Regions from separate parts of the Homo sapiens genome. Here regions 1 and 3 are each linked to region 2. The links are contacts of gene promoters, found by promoter capture Hi-C in blood cells and fetal thymus (Javierre and others, 2016). All regions are on one chromosome and are shown on one strand. The core of a region is centred on a gene start or on the middle of the fragment in contact, and the rest is flanking DNA. Distances in the headings are between cores, read along the strand shown. Region 1 overlaps CTNNB1 (catenin beta 1). Region 2 holds the start of ZNF620 (zinc finger protein 620). Region 3 overlaps CTNNB1 (catenin beta 1).

The links. The method cuts DNA at HindIII sites, captures the fragments that hold promoters and counts their contacts. A CHiCAGO score of 5 or more calls a contact.
Region 1: a fragment that was not itself captured here is called in contact with the fragment with the promoter of ZNF620 in region 2 in 1 of 17 cell types (M0 macrophages); the score reaches 6.0 in M0 macrophages.
Region 3: a contact is called between a fragment that was not itself captured here and the fragment with the promoter of ZNF620 in region 2, in 3 of 17 cell types (naive B cells, total B cells and naive CD8 T cells). The highest score is 6.2, in naive B cells.

Annotation. Positions count from the first base shown.
Region 1 is chr3:41,240,127-41,244,123 of GRCh38, reverse strand. CTNNB1 (catenin beta 1) reads right to left here. Exons shown (of 15, transcript NM_001904.4): 15 at 3,681-3,997. Among named protein-coding and RNA genes, the nearest start is that of CTNNB1, 43 kb to the right of the region's middle. The HindIII fragment of the contact is 1,510 bases long and covers 1,605-3,114 here.
Region 2 is chr3:40,504,786-40,508,322 of GRCh38, reverse strand. ZNF620 (zinc finger protein 620) reads right to left here and starts at 2,284. Exons shown (of 5, transcript NM_175888.4): 1 at 2,185-2,284; 2 at 1,947-2,019. The coding sequence starts at 1,970. The HindIII fragment of the contact is 1,073 bases long and covers 2,284-3,356 here.
Region 3 is chr3:41,205,307-41,208,839 of GRCh38, reverse strand. All of the region lies in intron 1 of CTNNB1 (catenin beta 1), which reads right to left. Among named protein-coding and RNA genes, the nearest start is that of CTNNB1, 7.6 kb to the right of the region's middle. The HindIII fragment of the contact is 1,601 bases long and covers 875-2,475 here.

The sequences.
Region 1 (3,997 bases), core at 1,110-3,609, 740 kb before region 2:
AATGCAGCAACAGAATTTACTATCTTATGGTTCTTTGCAGTTTATCTTTTCAAGTTTCTCCTATGAGGTTCTCAGGTCGGTTCTGTGAACACAGGGCGGGCATCATCCCTGTGTTATAGTTGAGAAAATGGGGGCTCTGGTAGCTAAGGCTCTCGTACAAGGTGATGGGAGAGGAATCTCCCTCACCAGGTCTCACCTGTCTCCACCTGAAGCAAGATGCCCTTTCTCTTTCCCCTGGCAACAGAAAAATGCAATGTAGAATATAATCTTATACATACAGGGGCTACGGTAGCAAGTGGTAGGGAACGGGGGAAGAGGCTGCAAGAAAGCTACAAGAGGCTTGGCCTCTTGGGACAGCTGTCTGGAGTGGGGTTGGGCGAGACTAGGCAAAGCTAGGCAGCCTTGGCCTCAAGCTTCAGTGGGGTTGAGAAGTGGTGTGTGGGAGCAAGAAGCTGGGCCTAGAACGAGGAGTTTTAATCTGCCCTTAAAATCCAGCCTCTGGCCTCTCCCATCAGAGGCTTGATGTTGAGGCGGGTGGACAAATGCATCCATTAGGTGTTTTAATAAATAATTACATTTGAATGGTGATATCCAATCCAGAAGCCTGGTACAAATGAAGCCTGGTGAAAACACCCAAAAGATAGACAGCAGAGTTCCTCCCTCACACGCTGTTAGTCCTCTCCCTGTCTCCTCCTGCAAGGTGCCCATTGCCACTAGGGTCTTCGTGTGCATCCAGGGATGGTCTATGCCTATCTTCACAAAGATTCTGCACCCACCCCTTTTTACCCATATGTGAGCAGCTGTCAACTCTGCTCCTTGCTTTTTCTCTTACTATGTATTTTGAAGACCATTTTATTCCAAAACACAGCTTTATGGGCTGGTTTTTTTTCCCCCCTTTGACTGCAGAGTGGTCCACCAAATAGATGCATCAAAATTTGCTTAACTAGTTAGGTTCCCTTTTGACACCTATTTGGGTTGCTATCTTTGACAGTGTTGCAATGAATTCCTTGTACATACTCGTGAGTATACCTCAAATAATTCTGAGTAGAACTGCTTTGTCACAGAGTGGCTCTCAGTCGTACCTAACATGGAAATTACATTTATGGACACACGGACCTTTCCCTATTCATGCCAAAACCTACTTTGGAAATACATAGAGATGGGGTTTCTCCTTTGCCTTCCTGCATACCCCTATACCTGTTCTGACCTTCCCCCACAACCTCAACTCTGAAACTTGTCACTTCCTTCTACGTTTACTGGAGTCTCAAGTGGTGGAATGGATATTATACAGAATTCCACATAGGAGGCTGCGATAAAAGAAAAAGGAAGAACTGCCCTGACAGCCCCTGCAGCCCCATCATTTCATAATTTCACTTTGGTGGGTGATCTGCTCAAGGCAAGGAAAGGCAGGTTCTCACTTAATAGAACTGCAGATCAACTTAGCATTTTTGCTTTATAAACAAAACAGCACAATTCACATCTTTTTATTATAGCAACCAAGAGTTAAAGAGTGTGTTTATCTTAAGATCTTTCATTATTAAGGATTCAGATCATCAGATTTCAAAGCCTCATGTCTGTAAGATCTGCTCCAACATAGAAAAGCTTCCTTCTTTGGTTCAATGGTGGTTGCTGCAATGGGATCAAATGTCTTAACTCTCAAGGCTGTCTCATAACTACAGCACAACTGAAAAAAGAACACTCAGGCTGGAAAGCCCTCCTATTCTCAACGGCCATGTTCATTTTGTCATTTTCACCTCCTGTACCCGGAAATGCAAGTGGGCAGCATTCCTTTTAGGCCTTTTCCTCCCCACCACTACTTCTCTTATTGAAAACTTGACCTCACTTTCTTCACCACTATTTACAGGAAAGGTTAGGTACCTTGCCAGCATCCCATGCACCTCCCTCTCCAGGTTAACCATTATTCTGATTTCTATAGTCATCTAATCATCTCCTTGCTCCATCTGTGGATATTTTCCTTAAAATAGCTTGTCCCTTTTTTTAATTGATGATCAATGGAGTTCTAAAGCATGCATCTGTAACTTGCTTTTGTTCAGTGTTATGTGAGATAGATATATGCATACTATACTGACACCCACATCACTGAAGCTGTAGTTTTTCACTGCACTGTCTCGTGTGAACAGAGATTGTTGGACACATGGGCGTCCAGTGTAGACTGTCAGCGTTGTGCCCTACCAAGCCTTACTGGCGCTTGAGGCAAAAGAAAAATCAGTACTACTGCCTTTATTTAAAATCTTGATATTTTGTTGGGTCATGGATGTTTTTCTGTATTGTTTTATTCCAACGGCTGTTTCACACCTTTATGAAAAAGTTGCTCTCCTCCCACTCGGATCTCCAACGCTGTCTCTGAAGAGTCTTTAAATGCCTGTGTATTATTCTGTATTAATCTGTATTTATATCCCTATTCCTGTAACAGGGTTAACTAACTTTAGCTTTGTATTAAGTAGTTAGGCCTTGACAGCTGCTAGAGCAAGTGCTATTTTTCCTAAGCGTCTTGGCTATTATTCACCCTTGGTACTTCCAGAGCCACCTTGTTGAACTGGATTAACTCTCACATTAAGTTTTTAAACTTCAAAAATAAAATACAATGAATTAGCAAAGCTCTGAAAACATTCTCTGGTTTTAAAAAGTTGTTCTTTCTGTAATTGAAACACCGTGCGGTGGCTCTTTATGTTAAAAGCTGAATTCACTGAAGATCTTCACGGTGTTAACCTACCAATAGCCCTAGGCTTCTTGAAATACTGGCTGGTTTGGTTTATCACACATGAGACAGAACCTGAGACCTACCACATCATCAGCTATGTGAATGTTTCTTTTCAAACCCTAATTACATTTTAGACCACAATGAATTCATTTTTGCAAAGCAAGGGCATTCACAAAAAGGCCTCCCCAGATGAAGCTGATTTTTAACGAAAAAGAACTGAATGTATGTTTTTCTCATAATTAATAGTCACTATCAATCATCATCAAAATAAAAACAGTAAATCAGAAAGAGCTCTCCCTAAAGACAAAACACTTCTTTCTTTTACTTTTTAAAAGACCAAAACACAAGTCTTAACAAACAGGTCTACCTGAAGAGATGAGATGAACTAAGCTTGTCAGACCTACCACCGGGATGATAGGATCATCTGGCAGGTACTGTGGAAGGCTCATTCTGGTTCTGATTATGTTCAGATAAACATCAACACTTAAACCTATTTAATTTATTTAATTATTATTAGTTCAAAGTCCAGTTGAAGGAATTCCCCTCTCCCAATGAGTCACACTTGGGTGAAGGTGATTCAAATCCAAATCCAGGTAGGGGTAGTTACTATTTATTTCATTACTTTAATGGAATCAAATCATCTGAGGGGGATTGGGGTAGAGATAGATAGATGGATAGTCTGCTTGGCTTTCTCCCACCAAAGCCCAGAACTAATCACAATGTGCAAGGCTGAAACACTTTTTTAGGGGTCCAGCGTAATCCAGGGCCAAATGCTAAAGAAACTTGGCAAATTGCATCTAGAGAAGTAGGGCCCTCTCTATCGCTACAACAAATTACTTCACTATGTATCTATCTATCTCAGGATAAAGTTCAGGATAAAGTTGAGTTGGATAAACTTACTTACCACCCTCACAAACCATTTATTAATGACAAGAAAAAAAGAAAGAGTGACACAATCGAATGAATTAAAAGTTTAATTCTGAACCATTTTTTATAACCGCATTTTCTCTTGAAGCATCGTATCACAGCAGGTTACAACAACTTTGGGATAAAAGGCAACTGGTAAACTGTCCAAAACAAGGTTCCAAATAACACCTCTTACTGATTTACCCTACCCATACATATCCCAAATAGTTTTTGATCAAAAACATGAAATAGATCCACCTGCTTATTTTAAGCATATTAAAAAGGAAACTAATTGGACCATTTTCTATTTGTCTATTTTATACAAAAAGGCTACACAATTGTTACACTTTATTCAGATTACAATTAATT
Region 2 (3,537 bases), core at 1,035-3,534:
ATGCCTATTTTACAAAACAAAAAAAAAAGAAAGATCTCAAATCTGTGACTTCAGCTTCCCCCTTAAAACTAAAAAAAGAATAGCAAATTTAACACAAAATAAATATAAAAAAGACATTAAAGATCAAAGTGAAAACTAATGACATAAAACAGAAAAGTAATGAAACCAGAAGCTAGTTCTTAAAGAAAAATTAATAAAATTCATAAACCTCTAGCCAGTGACCAGAAAAAAAGAGAGAATACACAAATCATTAATATTAGTAATAAAAGAAGTGACATCACTGCAGGTAATAAAAGATAAGCACATATTATGAACAACTTTATGTGAATAATTTCTACAACTTAGATAAAATGGATAAGTTCCTTGAAAGGCACAAGTTACCAAAACTCATTTAAGCTGGGCGTAGTGATGCATGCCTGTAGTCCCAGGTACCTGGGAGGCTGAGCGGGGAGGATTGCTTGAGCCCAATTTGAGGTCAGCCTGGGCAACATAGAGAAAACCGTTGTCAAAAAATAAAAATAAATAAATAAAAAGAGATAACCAGAGTAGCCCCTGTATCTACCAAAGGACTCAAAACTGTACTTAAAAACCTTATCAGAAAGAAAACCCCATGCCTAGATAGCTTCACTGTTGAATTCTACCAAACATTTAAGGAAGAAATGCAGTCAACTCTACATAAATTCTTCCAAAATATTAAAGAGGAGGGAATATTTCTCATTCTATGGAACAAAGACATCACAAGAAAAGAAAACTGCAAATCAATACCTCATAAACATAGATACAGAAATTCTAAATAAAATTTTAACAAATTAAATTCAATATATAGTACTAATAAAATAATAATACACCATGACGAAGTCGGTTTTATCCCACCGCAGAGTTGGTTTAATATTTGAAAGAAAAATCATGTAATTCACCACATTAACAAAGAGAGGCTGGGCACGGTGGCTCACGCCTGTAATCCCAGCACTTTGGGAAGCCAAGGTGGGGGAATCACGAGGTCAAGGGATCGAGACCATCCTGGCCAACATGGTGAAACCTGGTCTCTACTAAAAATACAAAAATTAGCTGGGTGTGGTGGCGCGTGCTTGTAGTCCCAGCTACTCGGGAGGCTGAGGCAGGAGAATCGCTTGAACCCCAGAGGTGGAGGGTGCAGTGAACCAGGATCGCGCCACTGCACTCCAGCCTGTCGATAGAGCAAGACTCCATCTCAAAAAAAAAAAAAAAAAAAAACCATATGGTCATCTAAATAGACACAGAAAAAGCAATTGTCAAAATCCAACATCCATTCCTATAAAAACTCTCACCAAAGTAGTACTAGAAGAGAATGCCTGATAAAGGACATTTACAAAACAAAACAAAACAAAAAAGCAAGAAACCTACAGTGAACATCAGTCTTCAGTGTGAAAGATTGAATGCTTTCACTTTAAAAGCATAAATAAGACAAAGATATCTGCTCTCACCACTTCTGTTCAATATTGAAATAATGCTTCTAGCCAGTGCAGTAAGGCAAGACAAAATAAAATAAAAGGCATCCAGACTGGAAAGAAAGGAGTAAAACTATCTTTACTCATAGATGACCTATGTAGAAAATACAATGGAATCTACAAAACAGTTACTAGAATTGCTATACTGAAGAAGTAAGTACTTCTCCAAGCCTGCGGACTAGGGTGAAAGGGGTCTTTATTGGATGTAATAATGCAGATTTCCACATTTCATAATTTTTATTTTTAAGCTGGCTTCAAATGCCAAATCCCAACCAATCCCCCCACACTCACTAGTTTTCTAGTCTTAATTTGGGCATTCTCACCTCTCCATCCCTCTCATAGTGACAGATGCACAATGGAAGCCACTGGCCTACACAACTCAAGATCTGAATGCAGAGGTGACACCTGCTCTCTCTTGACATCTAAAGGGTGGGAGGGAGGGAGAGGATGCTCACTCACCTGGCGCCAAGCGGTCTGGAACATGGCTGGCGTCCCAGCTTCACACACTGCCTCAGGGTTCGGAGAAGTGAAACTGAAGAGAAAATAAAGAAGCACCGGTGAGATTGATGCTGCCTCGCACCCCGCAAATGCCCTCTGTGCTACTTGGGCCCCTCTCCTTTCCGCCAACTCCTCACCCCAAAAAGCAAAGGGGTTGCAAAACCAGGCAGAACAAGCCCCAGGAAAACCAATCAGTTACCCGGACCGCGAACCTCTTCAGCTCGGACCGCGAATCCCGCGCGGCGCAGGCGCAGATAAAGCGTGGAAATTCCACCTGCCGCCGACACCGGGGAAAGCTTGAGACCCTCCGCCGGAAGTGCGTTTTCCATGCCCCTCCTCTCTAGGAACCTGGGAAGTTGCCAGTCTCTGTGGTTTCCTACCCCCGCCGTCAGCGCCAGTGTCCCTACTGCCTGAGACAACACGGGCCCGAGCGGGCGGCCCCAGGCAGGGGTCCTGCAGCGCCCACACCTGGTAGCTCCTTCGGGGCATGACGTCTGGCCAGCTCAGGCCACAGAATGGTTACTATCCTGGGTATTATTCGTGGTTATCTGGCATTTGCCACTCTGGGTGTCCTTCCAGATAATGAAGGGACCATCGCGCCCTTCACATGCGCCAAAACTGTCTGGATTGTGTGGGTGCGCTGCAGTGGGAAAAGTGGGTGTGGGGAAAGGCGAACCCATTACTCAGAAGGCCGAATGTGTATGGACTACGTAGGTCCAGAAACCCAGCTGCACCACTTGCTAGTTGTGTGACCTGCAGCAAGTTTCTTTGCCCCGGTTTCCTTGTCTATTAAATGGGTATTATGATGGTGGTACCAACCTCTTGAGGCTGTTCAGGGTTAATTCATTAAATTAGTTAATTGATAGGTAAATTATTTACAGTTGTGCCTGGCACATAGTATGTACTCGTGAGTTTGTATTGTTTTGTTTTCCAATTGTGTTTTTTGAAGACACAAAATAGGTGCTGCTGGGACTCCAATATGTGGCGTGCTTTAGGGAAATAGATTTTTTTAAGGACAATTTTCGAAGTTTAGCGAAAGAGCTATTAACATTTGGCTTAGAGCCCTTTCCTGCCCTGTACTGGGATGTGTGTCCCGGCCCAGCCTGGAAACAGATTTTAGTTATTCCTTCCACAGGAATTAGATTTATCCACCACTTTCAAAACAAGTCCTGCCATGGAGAGTATATTATGTATCTACTGCTGGATAATAAACTACTCTAATGCTTTGTGGCTAAAAACAATAAACATTGTTATCTTTTGACAGTTTCTGTGGACCCAGAATTCAAGAGCAGCTTGGCTGGGTGGTACTGGCTGAGGGTCTCTGCTGAGGTTGCAGTCAGGTGTCATGTGGGGCTGAAGTCATCTGAAGCTTGACTGAGTTTGGAGGATCCACCTCCAAGGTGGTTTACTCACATGGCTGTCAAGTGGGTGCTGGTTGTTGGCAGGAAGCGTCAGTTCCTTCCCATGTGAGGGTTTTCACAACATGGCATGTAGCTTTCTCCCAAAGTGAGCAATCCAAGAGGCCAAGGCCAAAGCTTTTATGACCTAGTTT
Region 3 (3,533 bases), core at 426-2,925, 700 kb before region 2:
AGCCAGTAGAGACAAGAAAAGAGAGATACCACAGTAATATTCTTGAGAGCAAGAGGGGATGGAATCTGCTGTACAAATGAACTGAGTGGCCTTATCTTGGAAGGCTACAGTTCATCCAGTGACAGAGGAGAAGATAAAGGACATGGTCATAGATACAAGAGATCACTGGGCATGAAGCCAGGGAGGGACAAGATTGTTAAACGTGTATACGAGAAAGTGATTATAATTCAGTATGAAACTTCAGCTGTATAGAAGTGAGGGTGAGGAACAGGGAAAAGCTTGGATAGATAAACTGTAGGTCCCAATGGGATTGATGGGCTGTTGGAACTGACGTATTTACTAGAGGAATTAGAAAGTGGGATGCTTGAAATGAGATTGGGGGAAGAGAGCAGAGTTACAGATAAAAGACAAAATATTCTAGGATATGACAATGGGAATATGTAGTTGAGTTAGGGTAGAAAATAAGATCACTGGAGAAGAAATCAAGGAACTAAGAGACCAGGATATTGGAAGCATCTTCTACATCAAAATTTGTACCAGACTGTAAATCAACATATTGCGTCCTTCATCAAAATCTTGCTACAAAAAAAGTAAGCTAAACAGTAAACTTAGTGACACAGGTGACTTATATTCTGGCATAACTCCTTATCTTAATTCATACAGGTAACAGTTACCAGACCACATCTTCACTAGTATTGCTCTACATAGATACTGATGTCACCAAGAATTATGACAGAAATAAGAGACAGTGACAATGAGCCAAGAGCTAATGAAGTGAACAAAGAAGGATGTGAATGACCCAGGAAGGTTTGCAGGTGCTTGAAATAAAGACAGGCAGTGGGTGGTATAATTTGATCACATGAAAGTCAAAGCTTGAAGTTTTGGAAAATAAAGGTCAAGAAGTGACAATAAGGAACAAAAGCAGACATTTAGTCCACACACCTCCTAGTTCAGTGTTATAAGGTGTGCAAGAAGGGAAAAATTCACCACTTGAGAGAGCTGCAAGGGAAGTAGCATTCTTGGGGAGAAGGCTAGGTTACAGCTGGAATAAGAAAGAAAGGAACATTCACAAGATTGAGAATATAAAGGATTTTCTAACGACTGAGTTCCAGAAGTTACAATGAATGGATTTCAGATGATGAAAGGTGGGAGATGGGGACCAAAAAAAGCAACAGGATTAGAGTCTGGGGGATAAGAGTTAAAACAGAAGAGCCAGTGTAACTAAAGTAACAATGTCCTTGAAAAGGCATGCCTCAGGACTGGCCTCTGCCCAGAATGCAGTACTACTTCCTTCATTGTAAAGACAGACCATTGATGAAATCTGATGGTAACAAGGTGAAGGGGTTCCTACTTAGCTCCTGATGGGGGAGAGGAGAGGGGAAGTTCAGGAGAAAAGGGAAGGTATTAAACAGCCCTTCTGTCTTAGATCTTTTCAGACAAATGTAATAGAATCTGCAGCATAATGGCAATAAGGAAAAACCTGAGGCCCTTTAGCATATAATGAGGGCGCTCTTCAAGCATGAGAAGTATTCTTCTAAAAAATCAAATTTTAATTATTTCCCAGCACCCACTTATCAGCAACACCATTTTAACCATAATTAATTACTCTGCCTCAACGGTGACCCCTGATCTTCTGGCATTCCTAGATATCTCATCTGTAAACTTTCTAGCCTCTTCTTATTCTATGGGGAACAGAATGCTGACACTCTGAATCAGGACCCAGGAAAAACGACAGCACAATTAAGCAGGAAACAGTGATCAACGGGGGACAACTACGATATACAAAGTAACAAGATAGTTGGGCTTGAAAACTAAACAATAAAATTCAGCAAAATGCCAGAAAATTGATATACTAAATTTATAATCTATTTAAAGAGCGGTATGTCAGTGTATTACGTTTCCTAAATAGCATTCAGTTTGTAACTTTTGTATCTAAATGAACTATAAAGTATAAGCGAAGTTTGAGGACATTCTTTCAATGGCTCAGAAAGGAATTTAAGGGTCTACCCCAGCACTTTCCTACACAGGGGAATGAACTCCACTTGGAAGCCTCCAAAGTTACTTGGATTGAAAAATATTTCCAAGAATCCCTTGTTCCTCCCTTATACATGTGGCATTCATCTAGTATATGCAAAACTTCAAAGACACTCACTCCCTACACCCTTACCCCAAAACCACTTAATTATACTTAAAAAAGAGAGAGAGGGAGTACAGTTCCTAATCCCTATTACAGCTGTTCAGTTTACTTCACAGTAAAGGAAAATTAGGAGCAGTTTGCAACAACTATCCCCCAGTGTAGCAAACTACTATCACCACTTAAGATCATCTTCAAATTGCACTCCCAAGAAATTTTGCAGTAAATTTAACTTCTTACACATTTTTATATGGACATCCAATAAGGTATGCTATATATATGCACATATATATGCATATATCTATTTCTGCTATTACAAAACCCTGTTAGTAAGAGAAGCTTATCACACTAAACCTAACACTTCAGCTTTTTTGTACGTCTTTGGCTTCCAACTCAGCTACCAGCATTTAAGATTTATTAATCATAAGGTTTATATGCCATGTAGACTGATTAACTTGAACTAACTTAAAGTAGGTTAAAAATACCCCCCAAGTTTTAAACGGTTTAACATATCTGTTACAAGTCAGTTAAAAAGAATTAGTCCAGCAACATGTGAATTACTAAAACAGAAGTAAAACCGTGGGGATATTAGTGAAAAAATAAAAATATGGAAATAAATAGGGGAGAAAATGGAAGTGTTATGAAGCAGTTTCACCCCAGCATCATTCAGATGTTCACACTCTTCAAACCATCATAAAGAGGGGGTGGAAAAGCCTTTTCAACAAGTTCAAAAGATACCAGAGGTAGGAAACTTCTGGGATATTACACAAGAAACTTTACAGTGGTTCCACGAAGTCTCATGGAGATTGTGGGATAGACTTGGGGTGAGACGCCTTTAGGATTAATGTTTCATGAATGGTTCACTGATCTGCTTGTATTTTACACCATCGTATCGTAATAAAAATAATTGCAGACTACAGCATTATTTTCAGATGATGCTTTTTAAACCAACACCGGCCTATGATTTACATTTTCACTCCAGTCACTTAAACACGGAGTTTGAAGACTAAACACCCCACTTTTCTTTCTTGAGATGGAGTCTCGCTCTGTTGCCCCAGCTGGAGTGCAGTGGCGTGATCTCAGCTCACTGCAACCTCCGCTTCCCAGGTTCAAGCAATTCTCATGCTTCAGACTTCCAAGCAGCTGGGATCACAGGCACCTGCCACCATGCCTGGCTAATTTTTGTATTCACCACGTCGGCCAGGCTAGTCTCGAACTCCTGACCTCAGGTGATCCACCCTCCCCAGCCTCCCAAAGTGCTGGTACTACAGGCACCAGGCCACCCCACTTTTCAAAATCTGGAAATACCTTGTTAGCAGCAAAAGATTTAACCAAAATCGATTTAACTGCCTACATAAACTTAAATTGGCCAAAAAGCCATTTGCCATTAATTTAAGTA